7 separate regions of the Homo sapiens genome follow, and all the other regions are linked to region 3. Evidence: promoter capture Hi-C in 16 types of primary human blood cells and fetal thymus (Javierre and others, 2016). All regions are on one chromosome and are shown on one strand. Each heading gives the region's core, a stretch centred on a gene start or on the middle of the fragment in contact. The rest is flanking DNA. Distances are from core to core; before and after follow the strand shown.

Evidence for each region. The method cuts DNA at HindIII sites, captures the fragments that hold promoters and counts their contacts. A CHiCAGO score of 5 or more calls a contact.
Region 1: the fragment with the promoter of EPN1 here is called in contact with a fragment that was not itself captured in region 3 in 1 of 17 cell types (total CD8 T cells); the score reaches 5.4 in total CD8 T cells.
Region 2: the fragment with the promoter of LENG1 here is called in contact with a fragment that was not itself captured in region 3 in 1 of 17 cell types (total CD4 T cells); the score reaches 6.3 in total CD4 T cells.
Region 4: a contact is called between the fragment with the promoter of ZNF580 here and a fragment that was not itself captured in region 3, in 3 of 17 cell types (activated CD4 T cells, fetal thymus and naive CD4 T cells). The highest score is 7.0, in activated CD4 T cells.
Region 5: the fragment with the promoter of LENG9 here is called in contact with a fragment that was not itself captured in region 3 in 1 of 17 cell types (endothelial precursors); the score reaches 5.3 in endothelial precursors.
Region 6: the fragment with the promoter of ZNF784 here is called in contact with a fragment that was not itself captured in region 3 in 1 of 17 cell types (erythroblasts); the score reaches 6.6 in erythroblasts.
Region 7: the fragment with the promoter of FIZ1 here is called in contact with a fragment that was not itself captured in region 3 in 9 of 17 cell types (fetal thymus, activated CD4 T cells, naive CD8 T cells and 6 more); the score reaches 10.8 in fetal thymus.

Annotation. Positions count from the first base shown.
Region 1 is chr19:55,673,874-55,676,757 of GRCh38, forward strand. EPN1 (epsin 1) reads left to right here and starts at 1,353. Exons shown (of 11, transcript NM_001130072.2): 1 at 1,353-1,562. U2AF2 (U2 small nuclear RNA auxiliary factor 2) reads left to right here. Exons shown (of 12, transcript NM_007279.3): 12 at 61-843. The coding sequence ends at 195. RefSeq lists silencers at 915-1,134, 1,305-1,634. The HindIII fragment of the contact is 36,539 bases long and covers 1-2,884 here.
Region 2 is chr19:54,158,248-54,161,135 of GRCh38, forward strand. It overlaps LENG1 (leukocyte receptor cluster member 1), which reads right to left and starts at 1,474. Exons shown (of 4, transcript NM_024316.3): 1 at 1,317-1,474; 2 at 35-214. The coding sequence starts at 1,448. It overlaps TMC4 (transmembrane channel like 4), which reads right to left. Exons shown (of 15, transcript NM_144686.4): 12 at 2,883-2,888; 13 at 2,631-2,786; 14 at 2,220-2,298; 15 at 1,861-2,127. The coding sequence ends at 2,059. RefSeq lists an enhancer at 807-1,476. The HindIII fragment of the contact is 1,716 bases long and covers 1,053-2,768 here.
Region 3 is chr19:55,078,253-55,081,473 of GRCh38, forward strand. It overlaps EPS8L1 (EPS8 signaling adaptor L1), which reads left to right. Exons shown (of 20, transcript NM_133180.3): 4 at 747-805; 5 at 1,438-1,599; 6 at 1,877-2,026; 7 at 2,520-2,602; 8 at 2,979-3,221. Among named protein-coding and RNA genes, the nearest start is that of EPS8L1, 4.0 kb to the left of the region's middle. RefSeq lists an enhancer at 2,045-3,002. The HindIII fragment of the contact is 9,126 bases long and covers 1-3,221 here.
Region 4 is chr19:55,639,346-55,642,583 of GRCh38, forward strand. It overlaps ZNF580 (zinc finger protein 580), which reads left to right and starts at 1,657. Exons shown (of 2, transcript NM_207115.2): 1 at 1,657-1,838; 2 at 3,152-3,238. The coding sequence starts at 3,164. It overlaps LOC107983998 (a long non-coding RNA gene), which reads left to right. Exons shown (of 2, transcript NR_171683.1): 2 at 781-1,454. It also overlaps a transcript of ZNF581 not described here. RefSeq lists silencers at 1,507-2,026, 3,217-3,238, 3,218-3,238. The HindIII fragment of the contact is 9,119 bases long and covers 1-3,238 here.
Region 5 is chr19:54,462,246-54,465,236 of GRCh38, forward strand. LENG9 (leukocyte receptor cluster member 9) reads right to left here and starts at 1,533. Exons shown (of 1, transcript NM_001301782.2): 1 at 1-1,533. The coding sequence starts at 1,281. CDC42EP5 (CDC42 effector protein 5) reads right to left here. Exons shown (of 3, transcript NM_145057.4): 3 at 2,781-2,991. The coding sequence ends at 2,856. The HindIII fragment of the contact is 35,995 bases long and covers 1-2,991 here.
Region 6 is chr19:55,622,982-55,625,913 of GRCh38, forward strand. ZNF784 (zinc finger protein 784) reads right to left here and starts at 1,585. Exons shown (of 2, transcript NM_203374.2): 1 at 1,503-1,585. The coding sequence starts at 1,580. RefSeq lists enhancers at 1,566-2,065, 1,816-1,965 and silencers at 1,566-1,615, 1,686-1,745. The HindIII fragment of the contact is 2,172 bases long and covers 1-1,908 here.
Region 7 is chr19:55,597,841-55,600,934 of GRCh38, forward strand. FIZ1 (FLT3 interacting zinc finger 1) reads right to left here and starts at 1,677. Exons shown (of 3, transcript NM_032836.3): 1 at 1,634-1,677; 2 at 1-61. The coding sequence starts at 25. ZNF524 (zinc finger protein 524) reads left to right here and starts at 2,448. Exons shown (of 2, transcript NM_153219.4): 1 at 2,448-2,568. RefSeq lists enhancers at 1,048-1,922, 1,923-2,796 and silencers at 1,274-1,693, 2,404-2,953. The HindIII fragment of the contact is 10,107 bases long and covers 1-3,094 here.

The sequences.
Region 1 (2,884 bases), core at 103-2,602, 600 kb after region 3:
ACGCTGACTGGCTGTTGGGCGTGAGCCTTGTTCACAAACCTGCCTCTCCTTTCCCCACAGATCTTTGTGGAGTTCACCTCTGTGTTTGACTGCCAGAAAGCCATGCAGGGCCTGACGGGCCGCAAGTTCGCCAACAGAGTGGTTGTCACAAAATACTGTGACCCCGACTCTTATCACCGCCGGGACTTCTGGTAGAGGCGGCTGGGGGAGGGTGGGGGCAGGGCTGGCTGGGGGCTTCTCCCCACTCCCGCCCCCCCCTTATCCCCCTCTGAAGACGATGGGCAGAGGAGTGACAGCCGCAGACACACGACAGCCGGCAGCAACTGGAATGGCAGCAATTAAGGGTGGGGGGCGGGGGTTGGGGGGTTGGGGGGTTAGGGCAGGGAGGGGACTGGGGAAGTGCGCACACAGCCCACACAGACAACACGCACCCACACAGACACAGAGGGAAGGGGTTGGGATGGGGACAGGGTGCACAGCAGGGCGGGGTAGGACCCCAGCCCCTCCCAAAACAGCCTCTCCTTCTCCCATAGACCCCTTTCTTCTCCCCTTCCCCACGGTAGGAACATAGCGTGTTTATATTTTATGGCCAAACTATTTTGAATTTTGTTGTCCGGCCCTCAGTGCCCTGCCCTCTCCCTTACCAGGACCACAGCTCTGTTCCTTCGGCCTCTGGTCCTCTCTGGTCCCCTCCTGGGTTTCTTACGTAGTTGATTTTTCCTCTTTAGTCTCCCCCGACCTGCGCCCAGCCCCGTGGCCCCTGCCCCTCTCCTACTCTCTGTGGCAGTTTCATATTTGCTAAGACGAATTTGCTCATTAAACATTTTGTTGTATTTTACTTTATGGAGCGGCTGTGTGTCCAGTATGTCCGACCCTCTTCCTCGGTTCTGGGCTCGGGTGGGGGTTCCCTTGGCAAACTGCGGGCCCCTGGCTGGGACGCCCCTGCTGCCGGCGCCGGCAGCCTCGAGGCCTTCCCTGCTTGCGCGGTGCCCTTCTCGGGGTCGGCACAGGCACAGCCCCGGGGGACGTGAGGTTCCCGAGTGCTCTCCCACCCCGCCGACAGGAGGGATGGTGGCCGAGCGGGCCGGGGCGGGCGTGGCGTGGGTGTGCCAGGAGCTCCGCGGTTGCCGCCAAGCGAGCTGGAGCTGACTCTCGGCGTTCCGTGAGCACCGCGCGGATCCCCCGCTGCAGCGGGCGGAAGTGACGTAGAGGCGCCTAGCAACGGGGCCCAGCGCGCCGGAAGTGATGCCTTCCAGGTTGGCTTGGCTGCGGAAGCGACTCCTGCCAGGGCGGGGTGCGGCACGGGAGGGCGGGGAGCGCGGCAATTTCCGCTTCCGGTCCGTCGCCTCCTTCTGTTGCTTCCCGTCTCCTCGGCGGCTCCCCTCCCCCGCCCGGCTCTCCGCGCCCCTTCTGGGCGGCGGGGCGGCGGAGCCGTCGGCGTGCGGCCCTCCTTGCGTTCGTGCGTGCGCCCGTGGCCCGGCGCACGTCCCGCGACACCGAGGCCGAGCGGGGCAGGGGGCTGACCGCCATGACCCCCCAGAGCCCGGCGTGAGGGGGCCGAGGTGAGCGCGGGGCGGAGCGCGGGGGACGCTGGCCCGCCTGCTCCGGGTGTTCGGGCCTGGGCCGCGGCGCGCGCGGGCTCGCGTCTGGCCAGTTCTGGGTGTCTCTGGCGGCCTTTGTGTCTCTGCTCCTGTGTCGGCCTTGACTGCCCCCGTGTCGGTTGTCTGTGTCTGTCTCTCTCGTGTCTGTGTGTCTGTCAGCGTCTGTTTCCTGTGGGCCTCTGCCTGTGCCTGTTTCAGTGAACTTAGAAAAGGGTTTGGAGATAGGAGTGTGTTTGTGTGTCTGTCCCGGGTCTCTCTCTCCTCTGTCTGTCGTGTCTGTGTCTGTCAGGATTTGTTCGTGTCTCGTTGAGTTTCCGAGTCTTCTTTTCCCTAGGTGTCTCTAGCCCTTCCCTGCGGGCTTTTCTGCCTATGGTGCAAATCTTACCCCCGCCCCGTCTTCGCATCTGAGTTTTGCCCCCATACCTATCACCTCCAATCCTGAAGTTTCTTTCCAGGAGTCTGTTAACTTGATCTAGAATCTGCCCCTTTTCCCCAGTTTTCTGAGTCTCTGGTGTGATGGTGAAGAGCCCCAGCCTTGGATTCAGAAGCCCGGCTGCCTGCTAAGCTGTGTAATTGCCAGGTGATAGTCTCTGTGTCAAAACCTCAGTTTCCTAGTCGTAGGAAATCCATAGTTCGTAGGCATTCGTAGTTCCTACATCATAGGGTCCTTGTGCATGTAAGTTGAGGTGATGCTTGTAAAGTGCCTGACGGTATCTGACACATAGCAAGTGTGTAATTACTGGGAGCTCTGGTTTTTATTATTACAGTGCTTAGAGATTTTTACACAGTAAGTGTTAGATATCGGTCGGTTATTGGAGTACTCCTTGGAGAACTTTGCCATATCCTTTGTATTCTTTTTAATGTAAGAATTCTCTTTGAATCAATTTAATTTGAAATACAGTCTCATTCTAAGCAGTATCTGAGAAATCTCAGCTTTGATGTGCTAGTTGGGTAATTTTTTCTAATGCACGCCAAATAAGTACAGAGTATTAAGATAGTGCCTTTTCTGCCGCCACCCTTTTGGAAATGTTCTCTGTTTTTTCTCTGATAATAATAGCAGCCAGTGTTATTGAGCGCCTACTATCTGTGGGGCACAGAGCCAAGCACTGCATGTACCCATCTTATTTAATCAACAGGCCTACCAGGTAGGAATTCTTTCATTTCAGAGTTGAGCAAACTGTGTCTCAAGGAGGTGTGCGCTGCAGGTAGCTGATGTGGCCAGGATTTGAACCCACATTTTATATTCTTTGCCATTAGATTCCATTTTTCTTATCTCTTATTTC
Region 2 (2,888 bases), core at 224-2,723, 920 kb before region 3:
GGCCCCTCTGATGAAGTGGGTGAGGCCAGCTTACTTTCTCCTGTCGCTTTTCTTCCTTGTACTCTTTATTGCCTCTGATCACTCCTTTCCCTTCCTCCAGCAGCTCCCGAAACAGGTCCACAGGGCCAGAACCTGGGGCTCCCGCCTCTGCTGCTTCAAGCTCAGGCAGTGAGTTCTGATGTCTGGCTTTCTTCCGTAGGAATTCTGTACGGGCCTGGGGAGAAAGTTATAGGCAGGACATTCAGAACCTAGAGGTAATTCAAGAACTGTGAGTCTGGTGCCCACCACAGAAAATGGCAGTCCAGGGTGCTGGGGTTATGAGAAAGGGAGCACTAGGCGCCTAAAAGAGGCACCTGTCCTAGCTGGGGGTGAGGGTAGGCAGATGAGGCAACGCCTGGGTTTTGTAAACTCCCTTTCAAATAGTAAACCACGGGTCATCAAGGATGTATGGGAGGAGGTCCCTGGCCTAAACCAAAGGGGTTCCTAACCTCAAGTGAGACAATTAAAACAGCCATAAAGGTATGCATTAGGCCAGACGATCTGAATTCTAGCCATGGCTCCAAGTGACTACCCCAAGTCTGCTGAAGCCCTGTCCCCTGCCTTCAGGACGCGGATTTCAAACAGCGCTCAGCAGCCTACTGAGATTCTAAAAACCTAGACTACCTCCCACCCACGGCGGAGGATCAGACTAGCTAAGGAAATGAAAGTTGGGTGTACACCAAACAGATTTAAAGAGCCATACGGAAAGCCCGTGTTTGTGTGTATGTGTCTAGGGGGCGGTGCACGAAAGGGCTCGCCCGATGGCGTGGAGCCTGGCTGTCCGCCTCTCCTTAAAATGTGCCTTCCCCTCACTGAAGCCATCTCACTTCGTGCAACAGAGATGACAGTGCCCCTCTAAGAACGAACAGTGCTTATTGGGGATTCCGCAAGTCAGGTGCACGGCATGTAGTTAGCATACAGTAGATGCTCAATAAATAGGCTGTGCAGGCAAACTAAAAAGTGATCCGAATTTCCTTGAACTGTCCAAGGGTTCACGGATTCATTAAATGTTAAGCTTCTCTTTTGTGCTAGACACTGTTCCAGCCATGTGAAATACATCAGTGGGGGAAAAACTAAGACGAGGGCGAGATCAAGGAAGGTTTCGTGGAAGTGGGCACAAGGTTTGCGGGGCAACGTCCTCGAAAGTGGGATCGGCGCCTGGTCCCGAATTTCACACGGGGCACATTGAGCCTGCGCAACGCCTCCGCTTCCGGCCCCCAACCGCGGCGCCTGCGCGCTGGGCCCCGGAGCGCCGCCCTGCCGGCTTCCGAGCTTACCTCTTGCTGAGCCAGCAGCACCCTCCGCTCACGCTCCTTCTCCTCCTCCCGGGCCTGGGCCTCGTCACGCCGCACGCGGGCGACATTGTCCTTGTTCCGGACGTGCCAGCTCTTCTTGGGCAAGATATTCATGGCGTCGTAGCTGTCCAGGGACTGGCACGCCCGCCTCTTTGCACTTCCGATTGGCGAGAGGATGCCCCCCTTTTTCTTGTCCCTACTTCGACCGCGGATTGGTTCCGAATTAGTTGGTACGGCCCCCTGGCCTGTAGCGACAGGTGATTGGCTGAGACGCCCTTTATCACAGCGAATGCTAGGCGTTCGGCTCGTGGTATCCCCTAGCAACCGCCTCTTGTCACAGATCTGAACCAATCATAAGTTGGCCCGCCCCTGATGCTACCAGATGCGGCCGTCGATTGGCCGACATGACCGACAAGTCTCCTTGCGGAAGAGCGCTCTGCACCGACAAACATGCCCGTACATTTGATTGGCTCCTGCCCCGCTGTAGCCCTGCCCCCACCTTCAGGACGCAGATTTCAAAGCGCGCTCAGCAACCTCGGCTGTATTTATTGATACAAGGAAGATCACCCGAGAGTCAGGGACGTGGCGGCGAGGGGCCCTGGAAATCTCCAGATACCAAAGCTGGAAGGGCGTGGAGTCTTCTCCAGTTCTCCTAGTTTACAGATGTTGTGACCTAGGCTTACAATGGGCCTGGGGTCTGAAAGCGGGACGTGGGCTGCGGGGGTCAAAGAGCCGGTTTGGTGGAGGTCAGCGCCACAGCGCGCCGTGCCAGGAAGACTTTATTCTGCGCCTCCTGGGGCAAAGAGAGGTGGAGGTGAGACAATCCTCTTCCCCAACCCCTTTCCATGTTCCCCAGGGGCCCTCTCAGGGACCCGCCTGGCTCACCGTCTCTCTCTGACGTTTGAGCTCAGAGATGAGGCGTCCGTAGGAGTTAGCCAGAGCCACAGTGTACGCCATCAGGATGCTGAAGGAGACAGGAACGGAAGCCACTCCTGACACGCTCTTCCATTATATCCAAACGTCTGGCTCCTTCGAAGCCAGGGATGTGGACGCCTAAGCCCCTCCTCGTCTGGGCTCAAGGAGTTCAGTCTCCCAGCCCCTCCGCCTTCAGATCCAGGAGTCCTACGTCCCGCCCACCTCCTCCTTCGGACCCAGCAGTCCAGGAGCCTAGGCCTCCTCCCTCAGACTCAGTACGTTGCCTGCTCCCACGCCCAAGCCTCTCCTCTCTTGGACGCAGGTGGTGGCCCCCAGATCACACGCATTCAAACCCAGACCCAGAAGTCTGGGCCGTCTCACCTGGAGATCAGCAGAAGGGGCACAGCAAAAGCCTGGGTCCCCAGGAAGAAGAGGAAATTCTGGGTGGTCTCAGGGAGGCTGGAAATAGACTCAGGGATCTGGGCCCAGATGGACGACTGCCCCCGGAATGGACCACACAGCTTAGAAGGCGGGATCCTGAAGTCAAGACAGGCTGGGCTCACATAGTGCCAGGAGTCTGAACACTGAATGGGGAGAGAGGGAGGGAGAGAGGCGGGAGCCTCTCGCACTTACAGGAAG
Region 3 (3,221 bases), core at 249-2,748:
CTGGGGGTCTGGACTCCTGGGTCAGAGGGAAGAGGGGCTGGGGGGCTGGACTCCTAGGTTTGAGGGAGGAGGGGCTGGGGGCCTGGACTCCTGAGTCAGAGGGAAGAGGTGCTGGGGGCCTGGACTCCTGGGTCAGAGGGAAGAGGGGCTGGGGGGCTGGACTCCTGGGTCAGAGGGAAGAGGGGCTGGGGGGCTGGACTCCTGGGTCAGAGGGAAGAGGGGCTGGGGGGCTGGACTCCTGGGTCAGAGGGAAGAGGGGCTGGGGGGCTGGACTCCTGGGTCAGAGGGAAGAGGGGCTGGGGGGCTGGACTCCTGGGTCAGAGGGAAGAGGGGCTGGGGGTCTGGACTCCTGAGTCAGAGGGAAGAGGGGCTGGGGGGCTGGACTCCTGGGTCAGAGGGAAGAGGGGCTGGGGGCCTGGACTCCTGGGTCAGAGGGAAGAGGGGCTGGGGGCCTGGACTCCTGGGTCAGAGGGAAGAGGGGCTGGGGGTCTGGACTCCTGGGTCAGAGGGAGGAGGGGCTGGGGGGCTGGACTCCTGGGTCAGAGGGAAGAGGGGCTGGGGGCCTGGACTCCTGGGTTTGAGGGAGGAGGGGCTGGGGGCCTGGACTCCTGGGTCAGAGGGAAGAGGGGCTGGGGGGCTGGACTCCTAGGTTTGAGGGAGGAGGGGCTGGGGGCCTGGACTCCTGGGTCTGATGGAGGAGGGGCTGGGCCTGGACTCCCAGGCTCATTCTCTTTCTCCCCTGGCAGAGCAGAGGAAGCGTTACTCCACAGTTGTTATGGCTGATGTATCCCAGTACCCAGTCAATGTGAGTCTGGGGTCTGTGTTCCCCCAGGACATCTTCTGGGGCAAAGGTGGCCTCAGGAGATAGGGCTTTTGAAAGCAGCTAGGCCCCCAAGCAGGAAGCATGTGGAAAGTCAGTTTGCCCATCCATAAAATGGACCTCCGTTGCCTCACCTCAGTCATGGATATGAAGCCAGGGGCCTCGGGTCCACTTAATCTGCCAGCCTTTCCTCCAGGCCAGCTGTTGTGCTGGACAGTGGGACCACGGAGGCAAATCAAGACACAGCCCTGCATGAGGAAGGGGTAGACAAGGTCCAGAGGAATCCACAGAGGCGCCTGGTGCTCTAATGGAGGTGGCAGGGGGCATGGCAGGAGACCCGAGGAGGCATTTAGAAGGAGAGAGCTATAATCCAGACTCCTTCCCTGCCCGCAAGGAGCCTCCAGTCTGTGAGAAGCCAGACTCAGGTGCTAGTCACTCTGATGAAAGGGAAACAAAGGGCACTGGGAGGAGGAGCTGATTTGTGGAACAGGTGATCAAGGAAGGCTTCCTGGAGGAGGTGTGGTTAGTCTCAGGCTGAAAGTCTGATTATTCTGGGGGATTCTGAGCCCACCTGGCATCATCTTGGGCCTCACTGCTTTCTCCATGGTCCGTACCAGCACCTGGTGACGTTCTGCCTGGGTGAGGACGATGGCGTGCATACCGTGGAGGATGCCTCCAGGAAGTTGGCCGTCATGGATAGCCAGGGCCGAGTCTGGGCACAGGAGATGCTGCTGCGAGTGTCTCCCGACCATGTCACGCTGCTCGACCCGGCCTCCAAGGTGCCGGGGGGCACGTGGGTGGGAGGAGTGTCTGGGGCAGGGACTTCAGGGGGTCTGGGTGTGAATCTTGGCTCCTGCACGTCCTTCCTCTGGGAACTCTGGCGAGGGACCCCAGCCCCCTTCTTGAGCCTTAATAGCCTCATCTATTAAACAGGGCTGTTATCCCTAACCCCCTAACCGCCTGAGGTTGCCCTGACCTGCTGGCCCACACTCCCGTCGCCATTTAGTAGTACCATCATTTCGGGGCCTCAGTTTACCCCGCCATCCCACCCGGCAGGAGGAGCTGGAGTCGTACCCACTGGGCGCCATCGTGCGCTGTGACGCGGTGATGCCACCCGGCAGGAGCCGCTCGTTGCTGCTGCTCGTGTGCCAGGAACCCGAGCGCGCGCAGCCCGACGTGCACTTCTTCCAGGGCCTGCGCCTCGGGGTGAGCAGATGGGCTGGCTCTGGGGGTGGAGCTGGAACTGGGCGGAGCCTGGAGCCGGGGCGGAAATGGGTGGGGCCTCTAGGTGGGGCGGGGCCTGGGGCTAAGGCGGGATCAGAGCAAGGAAGGGCAGGGGACCTGGGAAGGAAGTTCTGGAAGGCAGTGGGGTTTGAGATTGGACCCAGGGTCAAGATAGAACATGAAGGTGGGATGAGGACATGAACAGAACATGGCCAAGAAGGATCTGGGGGAGCAGCCAGGACGAGGTGGGGGCGAGGAACCACCCGGACTGGGTCTCCATGGGCGGGGTCGTGGCTTAGGGCAGGGACAGGTGTAGGGCGAGGGGTGAGTTCGGGGCGTGGACGTGCGTGGGTTCACAGGTGTGAACGGTAGCCGCACGTGGGCTGGGACTGAGCTGAAAAATCGGCCAGGGGCGAGGCCCGGGTAGGAAGTGGGTGCGGCGTGGGGAGGCGTGGCCTGACGGTGTGATTGGCAGGCGGAGCTGATCCGAGAGGACATCCAGGGGGCTCTGCACAATTACCGCTCGGGCCGCGGGGAGCGCAGGGCGGCGGCGCTCAGGTGAGAGGGAAGAAGTTGGCAGGGTCTCTGGGAAGCCGGTTTCCCCTCCTTGTGCCTCAGTCTACAACACCAGCCTGGAACAGAACAAGAGTTTTGCATGGAGTCAAGCACACCCTAGTCGAGTCTTGTCTGTACCTCCCAGACGAGCTGACCCCTTCTCCAGAACTCTGCTTCTTTTCTCTGTTCCCTGTCCAGGCCCTCAGTTTCACTCTAGAGAGGTGCTATCCCTCCGTATATCGGATTTCTCCCTACCTCGTTGAACTTGTTCACTCCCTTTGAGCCTTTTGAGCCTGTGTGTCTCGTTCTGCGCCCTGGATTTCCCCCTCCCTGGACCCCTCAGTGGACCCAGTCTTGGTGTCCCCGTCGCCCTCCGCAGGGCCACGCAGGAGGAGTTGCAGCGCGACCGCTCGCCCGCCGCTGAGACCCCGCCCCTGCAGCGCCGCCCGTCAGTCCGCGCAGTGATCAGCACCGTAGAGCGGGGCGCGGGCCGCGGACGACCCCAGGCGAAGCCCATTCCCGAGGCAGAGGAGGCGCAGAGGCCTGAGCCGGTGGGGACCTCGAGCAACGCTGACTCGGCCTCCCCGGACCTGGGTCCCCGGGGTCCTGACCTGGCGGTTCT
Region 4 (3,238 bases), core at 407-2,906, 560 kb after region 3:
ACTGAAGTGGAAGGATCACTTGTGCCTGGGAGGGTGAGGCTGCAGTGAGCCAGAAGCATGCCACTGCACTCCAGCGTGGGCGACAGAGTGAGACTCTGTCTCAAAAAATATACATACTGCCCAGTAAAATGTTTAAAAAGTACCTTGTGTCCCAAACCAAATATAACTGTGAGGCCTTTTGGGCCCTTGGGCCTCCAGTTTACAACTGGTTGACAGTGGTCTCTGGAATTGTTCCATAAGGTAGGAGCCATATGTGGCTTAAATTTTGATTATGGGAAATTAGTATTTTTTGAGACAGTCTCCCTCTGTTGCCCAGGCTGCAGTATAGTGGCACGATCTTGGCACACTGCAACCTCCACCTCCTGGGTTCAAGCGATTCTCCTGCCTCAGCCTCCCAAGTAGCTGGGACTGTAGGGGAGCACCACTACGGCCGGCTAATTTTTGTACTTTTAGTAGAGAAGGAGTTTCACCATGTTGGCCAGGCTGGTCTCGAACTCCTGACCTCAGGTGATCCGCCCGCCTTGGCCTCCGAAAGTGCTGGGGTTACAGGTGTGAGCCACCGTGCTGATTATGGGAAATGTAATACAATTTAAAATTCAGGTCCTCTGATACACCAGCCACATTTCAAGAGTGTAAGAGTCCCACGTGGCTAGTGACTGTCATAGAACTTTCCACCATTGCAGAAAGTTCTGATGGACAGTGCTCTAGGATGTAGCTGTGGCACCCCAGGGTCTTGGGGCTCGCTGTGACAGTTACTCCTCTTCTGTCCCCCACTCTCAGCTGCACCTGCAGATGCTGCTGCTGCCGCCCTCCTGCGAGGCCGTGGCGCCACGTGGCTGGAGGAGGAGCTGCAGCTGCCCCGAGTGCTGCCGCGTGTGCAGCTCTCCAGTGCGGCTGCAGCGCCACCGCGCGTTGCTTTCGACGCCGGAGTCCTTCGCATGCGCAGCCAGCGCCCGGGCCTCAAGTGCCCCAGGACCTGGCGCAGCCCGCGAGCCCGCATCAGGCTTCCAGTGGGCCCCGTGGGCAGTGCCAGCCTTTCCCACCTCCGCATCTGGCAAAGCCTGGCCTTCGCTGCGCTTCGGTGTCGCCACATGCCTTCTGGAAATATCACACCTCCCCACCTGCGCATGCAGCCGTCTGGCCCTCTGTGGGCCTCGGTTCCCGCATGTGCCCCGTGGAAAGAACATACCTTCCCCAACTATCTGGCAGCGTCTGGCCTTCTCCGGGCCTCGGCCTCCCCATTTGCTGGGTGGAGAATCACGGCCCGGCCACATCGGAGCCAATGGCTGGTCTCTGGACCTCGGTCTCCACATTTGCTCAGCCGGCAGGAACATCCCTTCTCCCGCCCTCTACCTCGGTGGGTGGCCACGGCCGAGCAGGCAGCGACGGCCCAGTGGAAAGAGGACAAACCCTTGTGGGCCTTAGGGCGAAGACGTAACTTTGCTTAGTCTCGGTTTATTGGCCGATCTCTTGTCAAGCGGCGGAATCGTTCCGTTCGGGAGGTGGGAGGGGAGCGGGGCCGCCGGGGGCGGGCGTCTTCAGTGGACCCCACGCCTCCGGTCCCCTCCCCGCAGGGCGCTCCGCAGAGGCGAGGGGTGGGAGCGCCGGCTCCAGGCGGCGGAACCTCCGCACTGGGCTCGCGCGCTTCCGGCCGGCGCCTTTTCCCAGGGACTCCGCCAACCCCTCGCACCCCCGCGCCCCCAGTCCCCGCGTCCCCGGCGCCGCCGGCCCGGAGCTGCCCGGAAGTCTCGGTTCCGCCGCCGGCGCTCGCCAGGGGAAGCCCGGGGCCGCCCGGGACCTCGGCCCGTTCCTCCGGACCCGAGAGGCCGCCGCACGGGGTACGGGGGCCGGGATGGAGGGAGGAGCCTGGCCCTGGGACGACGCCGGGGCCAGGCAGGCTGGGGGAGTGCGCTGGAGCCACCCGGGATGGGGGTGGGGGTCGGGAGCGGCAGGATCGGGCGGAGGGACGGGAGGGGAAGTCGAGGCGCCAGGGCTCCTTGGGGAAGTGAAGGCAATAGGAGGGGCCCCAGGGCCAGGGGACAGGCGGTGTGTAGCGGGATGGGGGCGAAAACGCCCGGGCGCTGGGGTTCCCATAAACAAGGGGAGCAGAGCAAAAGAACGGGCGGGGGACCACGCTGTGTGTAACAGGGAGAGGGATGGGGCTCCTGGAAGAGGTGAACACGAGGAGAAAGAGAGATGCCAGACGTACACAGAAAGGAGGGGAAAGTGGGCTTGGGAGAGGTGCTGTGGGAAGCGGAGTCCCGGAGCCTGGTGTGCATAACGGGGTTTGGGAGAAGGCCCCTGATGGGTACAGAAAGAAGTAACGATGTCACCGCCATATATGGGGGGCGAGAGAAAAGGGGGCCTTTGGGGAGAATGTAGCAGGTAGCCAGGTTGGGGGGGCGGGGTATACAGAAGGAAGGCATTTGAGCCATTTTGGGGTGTATAGATGTAGTAAGACGATGGGTTCCGTAGTGGGGAGAGGTGACTAGACTTCGAGGTGCTAAGTGTAGGAACAGGATGGAAAAGCCCTAGTGAAATGTGGGGAATTGGGTTAGTGGGGCTCTGGGGAGGTACCTAGAGAGGAAGTGAGGGAGGCCACGGAATATGAAGATGGGGAGGCCCTGCGGCATGTAGTGGGGACGGAGGGCCAGGAGGCCGATACGGGGGCCGGTGGGGGGGTAGGGGGCGGCAAAGGGAGGGGAAGTAAACTGAACTGGGGCTGGGCAACAGGAAAAAAGAAGAAACCACAGATTAGAGAAATCTCGGCGGTCAGGAGGCCCGGGGTCTAAGATGTAAAGAGGTAAACAGATTTAGGGATTGATTGTCTGCTGGGGTGGGTTGAGAGGAGAAAAGGGAAGAAAAGTCGGGGGACTACGTCCTCAGACCTGACCTGAGTGGTGAGAGGTGGACCCAGGAGGAGTGGCAGGTGGTGGCGGGGTTTTGCAGAGCTCAGTTGGAGGCCCTCTCCGAGGCAGCTTGATGGAACGTGGGAGAGCCGGGCTGGAGTCACAGTTTTTATTTTGCTAGGGAGGTAGTCAGTGGCGCACAAAGGGTAACAAGCAGTGATAGTGGGGATGCTTTCCATTTTAGGAAACTTTTCCTAAAAGGAAGTGGCAATTTTAACTAATCTCCCCTCCGCCGCTCCCAGCTGCCGCTCCAGATGCTGCTGCTGCCGCCGCGGCCACCCCACCCTCGGTCCTCCTCTCCGGAGGCCATGGACCCACCGCCCCCCAAG
Region 5 (2,991 bases), core at 283-2,782, 620 kb before region 3:
CACGGTGAGGTGGGGGTGCAGCTGCCCTGGAGACTGTAGTGTACTCAGCCCCTCGGCTTCCAGCCTCTGGCTCAGCACTTGTGCCATGCTTTCCAGTGTGGGAGAGGGTGGGGCACACAGCACATGCGGGCCCAGGAGGACCAGCTTTCTAAAGCTCAGCCGAGGGGGTGCATTTAGCCCCGGGGCCAAGAGGGCCCGTCTCAGAGCTCCAATGGCAGCGGCCTCCTCCCCAGCGCCTGCCAGTCGCAGCAGGGCCAGGGTCAGGTGTAGGTTCTGAGAGGGCACTAGGAAGTTGGCGCAGTGTGGGGCCACGTGGACCAGGTATTCCTGGGCCTTGGTCACTTCTGCTTGTAGCCCAGGCTCGGTCACCATGAGGGCCACAAAATGTGTGGGGCGCGGTTGGCAAGGGGCTGCAACACTAAGGCGGGCCCTTTTGTCCTCGGGCCAGGCCGCAGGACCCCACTCGGCTTCTGTCGTCTCAGCGGAGCCCCCCGGGACTCCCAGGGCCTGTGCTTCCTTGCCCCCCAGCAATGTGGTCCTGGTGGCTGCTGTTGGCTTCAGTGCCTCAGTCACTCCGGCGAGGCGTCCTCTTGGGGCCAGTGTTCCCAAATCAGCAGCTGTGCCCAGCGCCCTCTCCTGGGCCGCCTCCAGCTCTCCGGGTTCCTCCACGCCTGGTTCCTGGTGCCCTGTGCAGAGCGGCCTTGTGCTCCCTCGCTTGGGGGCAGCCTGGGCCTCCTGACCTGTCCCCGCCAGTGTCCACTCGGCACCCTCTGCCCCGTGGGCGCCCTCGGTGTTCGGTGCGTCCAGGATGGTGGGCCCGCGTCCCGCCGCCGAGCCAGAGCCAAAGACGAGGTCGGTGCGCGAGGCGCGGTCCCACACAAGGCGGCCACGGAAGCGGAAGAAGCGCACGCGGTGCTGGGGCACTGCCAGCACGCCCGGCCCGAGCGCCGCCAGCGGCTGGTCCCAGCAAAAGGCGCTGAAGGGCTCCTCGCGCACACCCAGAAAGCGGTCGACGTAGCCCACCGAGAAGTCGGCGGGGTCGAGGCGCGGGTCCCAGCGGATGCGCTGGATGACGTCCGCGGCTGTGCGCAGCGGCGGCTTCTTGGCCCCGGCCTCCGGCTGCGCCTCGCGGCCAGGCGGCGCCGGCGCCCCAGGGTGGGGCTGGCGGCAGCGGGCGCCGAAGCGGCAGCGGCCTTCCAGGAAGAAGCGGCAGGCCGGCGGGGGCGCGGGTTCCGTGGCGGGGGCTTCCTGCGGCAACTCCGGCTCTCTGGCCGCTGCCATGGGTGCGGGGAACTGGCACGCCCGCCGCGCAGACGAGGTCGCCCCGCACGGAGGGCGGCTCCCCTTGGATGCACCGAGCCTCACCCGACAGTGGCGTCAGCGGCCCGCGCTCCGGCCTAGCTCTGGGGACCACGCCGCGTGCCCTCGCGAGGACTCTGGCCCAGTCCCTCCTTGGTGGAGAGCCTGACACCGCTGCTCTGGGACTTCCCGGCTGCGCCCTCCCCCAGCGCCAGGAAAGCAAGCTGCGTAAAGGCTGCGGCAGTCTCGGTCTCCCGGAGCTCTTGGGAGCCTGGCCCCGCCCCTTTCCCGGTGATTGATGTGTGCTGCCTCTTTCTGGGTGATTTACATGTAATGCCCCGCCCCTTTCGGGATGATTACGTGTGCCTCGACCTTTAGGTGATTTACATGTAGTGCCCCGCCCCGTTCCCGGTGATTTACATGTGGTGCCCCGCCCCTTTCCTGGTGATTTACGAGTGCCCCACCCCTTTTAGGTGATTTTTTTTTTTTTTTATGTGTGCCTCTCCCCTTCCCAAGTGATTTACATATGTTCCCCGCTCCTTTCAGGGTAATTTACATGTAATGCCCCGCCCCTTTCCGGGTGATTTACGAGTGCCTCTCCCCTTCTCAAGTGATTTACATGTGTCCCGCCCCGTTCCGGGTGATTTACATGCGTGCCCTGGCCCTTTCCCAGTGATACTTTTGTGCTGCCTCTTTCCGGGTGATTTACGTGTGTGCCTCTCCCCAAGTGATTTACATGTGTGCCCTGTCCGTTTTAAGGTGATTTACATGTGGTGCCCCGCCCCTTTCCGGGTGATTTACCTGTGTCCCATCCCTTTCCCGGTGATTTACATGTGGTGCCCCGCCCCTTTCCCGGTGATACCTGTGTGCCCCGCCCATGAGGGGACGTCTTTAAAGAACCTGGACCCGCCCTCAGTCCAAGTGATTTACATTTGCGGCCCCGCCCCTCTGGGAAACTTACGAGAACCTGGCCCCTCAGTCCAAATCATTTGCATGTTCGGCCCCATCCCTCGGGGGCCTTAAAGAACCAAGATGCCTGCGGACCCTTCCCCCACGGAGACCAGGCCCCTACTGCTCTAAAAGTGTTCTCAGACACTTCCCTCTGCAGCCGCTCCCAGAGTAAACGGCGGCTCCGCCGGGTCGGAGTCCACCTGAGGCGTTCAGGGCCAGAAAGACTCCTGGGGCTGCAGCACTCTGCAGCCCCGCCTCGGCTGGCCCCGCGGTGGCTGAGTCTGGCCCGGCCCCAGGACCACGTCCGGCCGGCGGTGGCGCACAGTATTTGACGAATGGGACTGCGGGAGCCGCCGCCTCTGCAAGGGGCACCGCCTGGCCACGCCCTCGGGCTCTCTTAAAGGAGCCGCACCCCCACCCCAGGGCAATCATCGGACCCGGACCAGGCCTCCGGGTGACACATCCGGCTCTCAGAGGCGCCAGGACCCTATCATTCATCCCTTTCCACGTGCAAAGTGAAAAGTCAGAGCCCGGGCACACACCTTGGCCGTTTATGTATACAGAAGTGGGGTGCCGGGCGGGAAGGGCGCGGGGAATGAGGGAACCTAGAGGCCGATGACGTCGTTCAGCTCGAGGTCCGCGTTGGGGCGGCAGCGGGCCTGGGGGGGCTGCGTCCCGGGGCGGGGTTCCGCGTCGGGCTTGGCGGCAGCCGCCTCCGGGCGCGCCGCGTCCATGACGCCC
Region 6 (2,932 bases), core at 335-2,834, 540 kb after region 3:
GCCTGGCCAACATGGCAAATACCGTTTCTACTAAAAATGCAAAAATTAGCCAGGTGTTGTGGCTGCTGCCTGTAATCCCAGCTACTCGGGAGACTAAGACACGAGAATCGCTTGAACCCAGGAGGTGGAGGTTGCAGTGAGATGTGATCATGCCACTGCCCTCCAGCTCAGGCGACAGAACAAGACTCCATCTTAGACAGCAAAACAAACAAAAATTATTATTATTATTTTTAATGTAGAGGGAGTCCCACTATGTTGCCCAGGCTGGTCTCCAACTACTGGGCTCAAGAGATCCTTCTGGCTCTGCCTCCTAAAGTGCTGGGATTGCAGGCGTGAGCCGCCGCGCCCGGCCCATCCTCCAGGATTCTGTTGTATCCTCATCAACATTTCCTCTCCTGTCCAAAATATATCATGGATCCCACCTTTTGTCCTCCACCCTAGTTAAAGCCCCATCACTTGGCGCCTCCAAAATTGAAAAACCCAAGGGCATCTCTGTTCCTATTTCTGCTGGCTTGTAACCCACCTCCCAGGAATAGCCTGAAGGTCTTTTGAAAATGTAAATCAGATCAAGTCATTTTTCGCACTCAAAACCCTCCAGTGGCTCCAAATGACTTATCCCAAATCGTCACTATAATATCTGTGGCGATGTAGCTCCACTTATCTCTCTGACCCCAGCTTAAACATAAGCCGGCACCCAGCTGACTTCTCTCGTCTAAATTTAGCTGCCCCACCCCTACTCTTGGCTCAATTTATAGAAATTGGCTCAATTTTTATTTCCTTTATAGAACATATCACAGTAACTCTCCTTTATTGTCTCTCTCCTCTCAAGAGACTGCAGGCTCCAAAAGAACACAACCCTTGTCTGTCTTGGTCACTTCTCTATTTACAGAGCCGAAGTAGGAGCTCAGTAAATGTTTGTTGAATGAATGAATGTCCTCAATTAGTCTAATTCTGAGTGGGGTAACGTGGAGGAAGTTCCAAAGTCACCTAGACCACCCACTTCTACCCCCAAATTCTCCCTTGGGCATTCGAGAAGCATCACTAAGACCCTTGAAGAATTATCCCCTACCCCGACATAGGTGCTCCAATCATAATCCCCCACGTTTTTCAGGGTCACCTTCCCAACCTTCTACCCTAGAATTAGCCCTAGAATTTATGAGGCCCCGCCCCTTACAAGGCTCCACCCAAATTATGCAAATTATCCCTGGTAAGCCCCCTTCCCTGGACCCAAACCCGTCCCACAAGACAACACCGTCCTCAGACTCCGCCCCCATCCAGGCCCCGCCCACCACCCATAGGTCCCTCCCCCACCCCGCCCACCATGACATAGTCTCCTCCCCTGCCCCGCCCCTCGCGAAACCACAAGAAGCCCCACCCCCAGGGCCATAGCACTAAATACCTCCCTCGCCCACCCCCTCATAGGCCACGCCCCGGACCCGCCCCCCACACTACGACCTCCTCCCACCTCGAGCCCCACGCCCAGGCCCCTTCCTTGCCCGCACCAGGTCCAGTGGCTCCTGGGATCGCGACTCCGGAGTCGGTGAGCTCCGACTCTGGGCCTCTGGGCGCGCAGCGGCCATCTTGTGCCCAAGCCCCGCCCCCAAGGCCAATGTTCGCTCTGAAAGGGGGTGGGGCTCGAACTGGCGTAAGAGCTACTGCGCAGGCGCAGTGCGGGGCTGCGAGGGGGCGTGGTGCAGCAGGGGGCGTGGCGGGGCGGGGCGTGGCGGCTGAGCCCGGGAGAATGTGAGTTGTTCCCTCTCTAATTACCTGTCTGTCCCTCCGAGGGTACGCTCTGTGTGGCGCTAGGATGCCTGTAACACCCTGGGAACAAATCCGAACGTTCCTTCTAAACCAACGCAGGCCGACTCGAGGCTCTGGCTGTCAGGGGAACCTCAGCAGAACTGAAGAAGCTTTGCTTTGTTTCCACGGTAAACGTTTTTGTGATTACCTCTGCACTGCTCATGACAACGTAATGACGCCAAGTTTATAAACGTCGGTGTAGGCCGGGTGCGGTGGCTCATGCCTGTATTCTCAGCTACTCGGGAGGCTGAGGTGGGAGGATCGCTTGAGGCCGGGAGGTCGAGGCTGCAGTGAGCCATGATCTCGCCACTGCATGCAGCCTGAGTGACAGAGACTCTGTCAAAAAAAAAAAAAAAAAAGGCAGTGTGGAGAAAAATATTCAGTAAACAGCAACACAGGTGGTCCTGGGAGGACGCAAAAACCCGCAAGCTGATGTTATGTTTGGGAGGAAAGAGCTCAAAAACGCGGGGTTTTCAGCAGCATCAAGGACGGGGCTCTTCTTAGCTGCCCCGTTTAGTCATTCTGGTGGTATCACCTTGGATAAGTCACTACACTTCTCTGGACCATTTCTCTTTCTTTTGTGTAGCACTGTAGAAGCATTGTGACAAACCACTGAGAAGAGACATGGAAGAGTTTGGAAACATCTTTAAATAGTTTTCTTGAAAGGGCAGGATAGGAGATACTTAAACATGATCCTAAGCATGATCATTTCATTCATAAATATATATGAAATTATATTTTGTGATATGTTGGTATAAAATAAAGATAAACACCACTTAGGCTGAATTATCTCCTCCTCCTCCTTTCTTCTTCTTTTATAGAGATGGGGATCTTGCTGTCTTGCCTTGCCCAGGCTGGTCTTGAACTCCTAGCCTTAAGCGATCCTTCTGCCTTGGTCTTCCAAAGCTATATTTCCCTTCTTTTCTTTTGATTTTAAAATAATTTTTTTTTTTTTGAGATGGAGTCTCACTCTGTCGCCCAGGCTGGAGTGCAGTGGCATGATCATGGCTCACTGCAACCTCTGCCTCCCGGGCTCAAGCGATTCTCCTGCCTCAGCCTCTTGAGTAGCTGGGATTACAGGTGCCCGCCACCATGCCCGGCTAATTTTTGTATTTTTAGTATATACAGGGTC
Region 7 (3,094 bases), core at 427-2,926, 520 kb after region 3:
GGGTTGGGGCGGGGACGTCATCCATGGTGGCGGGGAATACAGTGGTATGTGGGGGCTCTCTCTGGAGTAGTGGGGAGACAGAGGAGCAGGTGAGGGGGTCGGCTCCCCATCAGCTCTCTCCTCCCAGGTTCCCAGACCCACCACCTGTCCCCTGGGAGACCCTCCCACTGCCCACCTCTCTAAGCCACTCTCATTGTTCTTTAAAATCCTCCTACTCTCTTAGAAACCCTTCTCTCGCGGCTCCACGCCTGTGGCAAAATCTTCCTAATCACTTCATAGTCTCCTCACTCCACGGAGTGTTTTTAAGCCTCTCCTCGCTCTTCGCCAATGCGCGGCCACTGCTCTCTGTGCCCCTCCCACTGTAATTTAAGCCTCTCCCACTCTTCCTTAAGTCCCACCTACTCCCTTCAAAGTCCCCCACAATGTTCCCTAAGGATCTTGTATTCTTTGCCAAGCCCTTTTCCTTCCAAAAGGCCCTCCCACTCCCCTCTAAGCTCCTCCCACTCCTCTTCCAGGATGACCACTTAGCGAATGGGAGGGCAAAGATTTGGGGCTAAGCACACTGGAGTCATCCTTGCAGGGAGACCAGAATTACTCCTGTAACATCAGATAATAAAAATTCTTCATCTGTAAAATGGGAATAGTAGTACCTACCTCATGGAGTGGTGGCGAGAATTAAGTAAAATTGTGGCAATAAATGCTACGTGCCCACTTAAGCTGGTGCACAGCAAAGACGCAACAAGTAAGCTGTTTGGATGACTATTATCCCGTAAGTTCCTCCTGGATTCCTCCTTAAGTCCTACCATGATTGCTAAGTTATTTGACTTATCTAAGCCCCTCTCGGGTCCACTAAGACCCACTTCCAAAACTCCACCCAATTTTTCCTTTAAAGAAGCCACATCCTTTCTAAGACTCTCCACTGGACTCCCGTCACCTTCTCAGGCCTTCTCTACGAAGTCTATTCCCATCCCCTGCAAGTCCTTTCCACATTCATTATAAAGACCTGATAGTTGCATTAAACCCCTCCAAATTACACCCTTAAACTCCACCCCCCTCACTAGGCCTACCTACTTCTCTAAGCCACACCCCAGACAAACTCCATCCCTTCTACTCTAAACTCCTCCCTCCTGCTTCCTGGGCTCCCTTTACCCAACCAGCCTCAATGAGTTTCCTTCCACCCCTCAATCCAGGGCCTACCCACCATTCCTTCTGAGCCACGCCCCTTTATCAAACCCCACCTCTTTGCCTAAGACCCTCCCATTTTCTATCCAGACTCTCCCTCCTCCACGCCCCTCCCACTTCCACTCTAAGCTCCGCCCAACTCAGGCTCCTCCCAGCCCTTGCTCCGCCCCAGCAGCCACTAGGCCCCGCCTCCTCCTCCACCCCGCAGCCTGAGGAGCGGGCCCCCCCACTTGCCCAGTCTGCTCCAGGCCCCAGGCCCCGAGAGCCGGCCTTTTGTGCCCCTCCCCCTGCCCCTAAAAGGTGCAGCCCTGGGCGCCCGGTTGGGGGGCAGGTCGGGCAGGCCCCGGGGCCAGGCGAGTCCACCTCGCTCGTACGGAGCGTTGGTCCTGGAGACCCGGGGCGGCCCCGGGAGGCCGGGGAAGTCCGTCGGCTTTCCTCTTTAATTACTTACACCTCCCTCTGGGCGCCGACATTTTGGGCAGCGGGGGCAGCGTCACTTCCACCCGGGGGGCCCCTCGACTTCCGCCTCAGCTCCCTTCCCCCGCCGTACTCCCCCTTTCTCCCGCCCTCTTGGCTCCCCTTCCTCATCCCCGCCCTTCTCCCTCTTTCCCTTTCCTTTCCCAGCCCTGGAGGTTGAAGAAGCCAGGCCCGCGCCATCTTGGGTGAGGGCAGCGGGAAGGGGCGGGGCTTAGGGACACCCACGGCGCCATACAGACTAAGGGCAAGGAGCTGAGAGCGAGGGGGCTTCTCCGTGGCGACACTAGGCGATGCTAACGTAAATGAGAGCAGATACTATTTCTTTTTCACAGCCTCGGACTCCTCCGATTAGGATGTACAGTTGGACTAGGGAAAAAAAAAGAAAGCGAAGTGCGCCAACTGCAATACAGAGCTGGAAAAGACCGGCACCATCTTATCCACTTAGCACTCCATGGGCTTCGAAGCCTGTCCGGTGCCATGTTAATTACGGGCACTGGGCAGCCATTTTCCCGCTCCTCATCATTCGGTATCTGTCTTTGGGTCACCCGACTGTGGGCTTTGTGAGAGGAAAGGCGTTTCGAGGTGGTTGGGGATGTGGTGCTGGGTTATTTCCCACTGGGGACACACCAGGGCCGCCGGTGCGCAGGCGCGGCTTCCGGGCGTGGCCGCGACCGGTCGTTAGGACCCAGCGAGTCCCCTTTGTTTCCCGCGGGCGCGCAGGCGGGCGGGAAGGGCAGGAAGGGAGGGGCCCGGCGCTTCTCCGAGGGGCGGGGCCGGCACCGCGCGCCGCCGCCCCCGCCTCGCCGCCGCCGAGGGGCAGGGCCCCCTCACCCCCTCCCCTTCCCACGCGCCGGCCCCGTTGCCCCCGCGCGCGCGCACACTCGCGAGCCCCGGCGACATGCAAATGAGGTACCCGAGAGGCGGGGGGCGCAGGCGGGAGGGGGGGTGTGGGGGTAGGGGAGGCCGGGCCGCGCGCTCCCGGAGCGCGCCTCCAACACCTGTTCCTGCTCCCGCGCTCGCGCCCCGCGAAGCCGTCCGGGCGCGCGCGCGCAGACCCCCTTCCTGGCAGCCCCCGCCGCCCGCTTACCCGGCGCCGCTCATTGGCCGTCGCCCCCGCAGGGCCCGCCCCGCGCTTGGGCTTCGCAGCTCGGGGGCCGATGGGCGCGTCAGTACCGGGGCGAGGGGACGGGGAGGGTCGGGGGACCAGTCTCCCCCTTTCCACCGTTCCAAAGACCAGACTCCTAGACTAGGCTACCCCGTGGGAGCGAACCGTATGGAAAGGTGGTTGCTCCTCTCTGGACAGCAGTCTATGTGGCTGTTAAAGGGGAGGGGGGGGTGCAGGGGGGCACCTGCAGCACCTGCTTCCAGCTGCACCTGTGCCTCCCCTTCCCCTCCGTTACACCCCAATCCCATGCTCCCAGTATCTGAGTGGGCG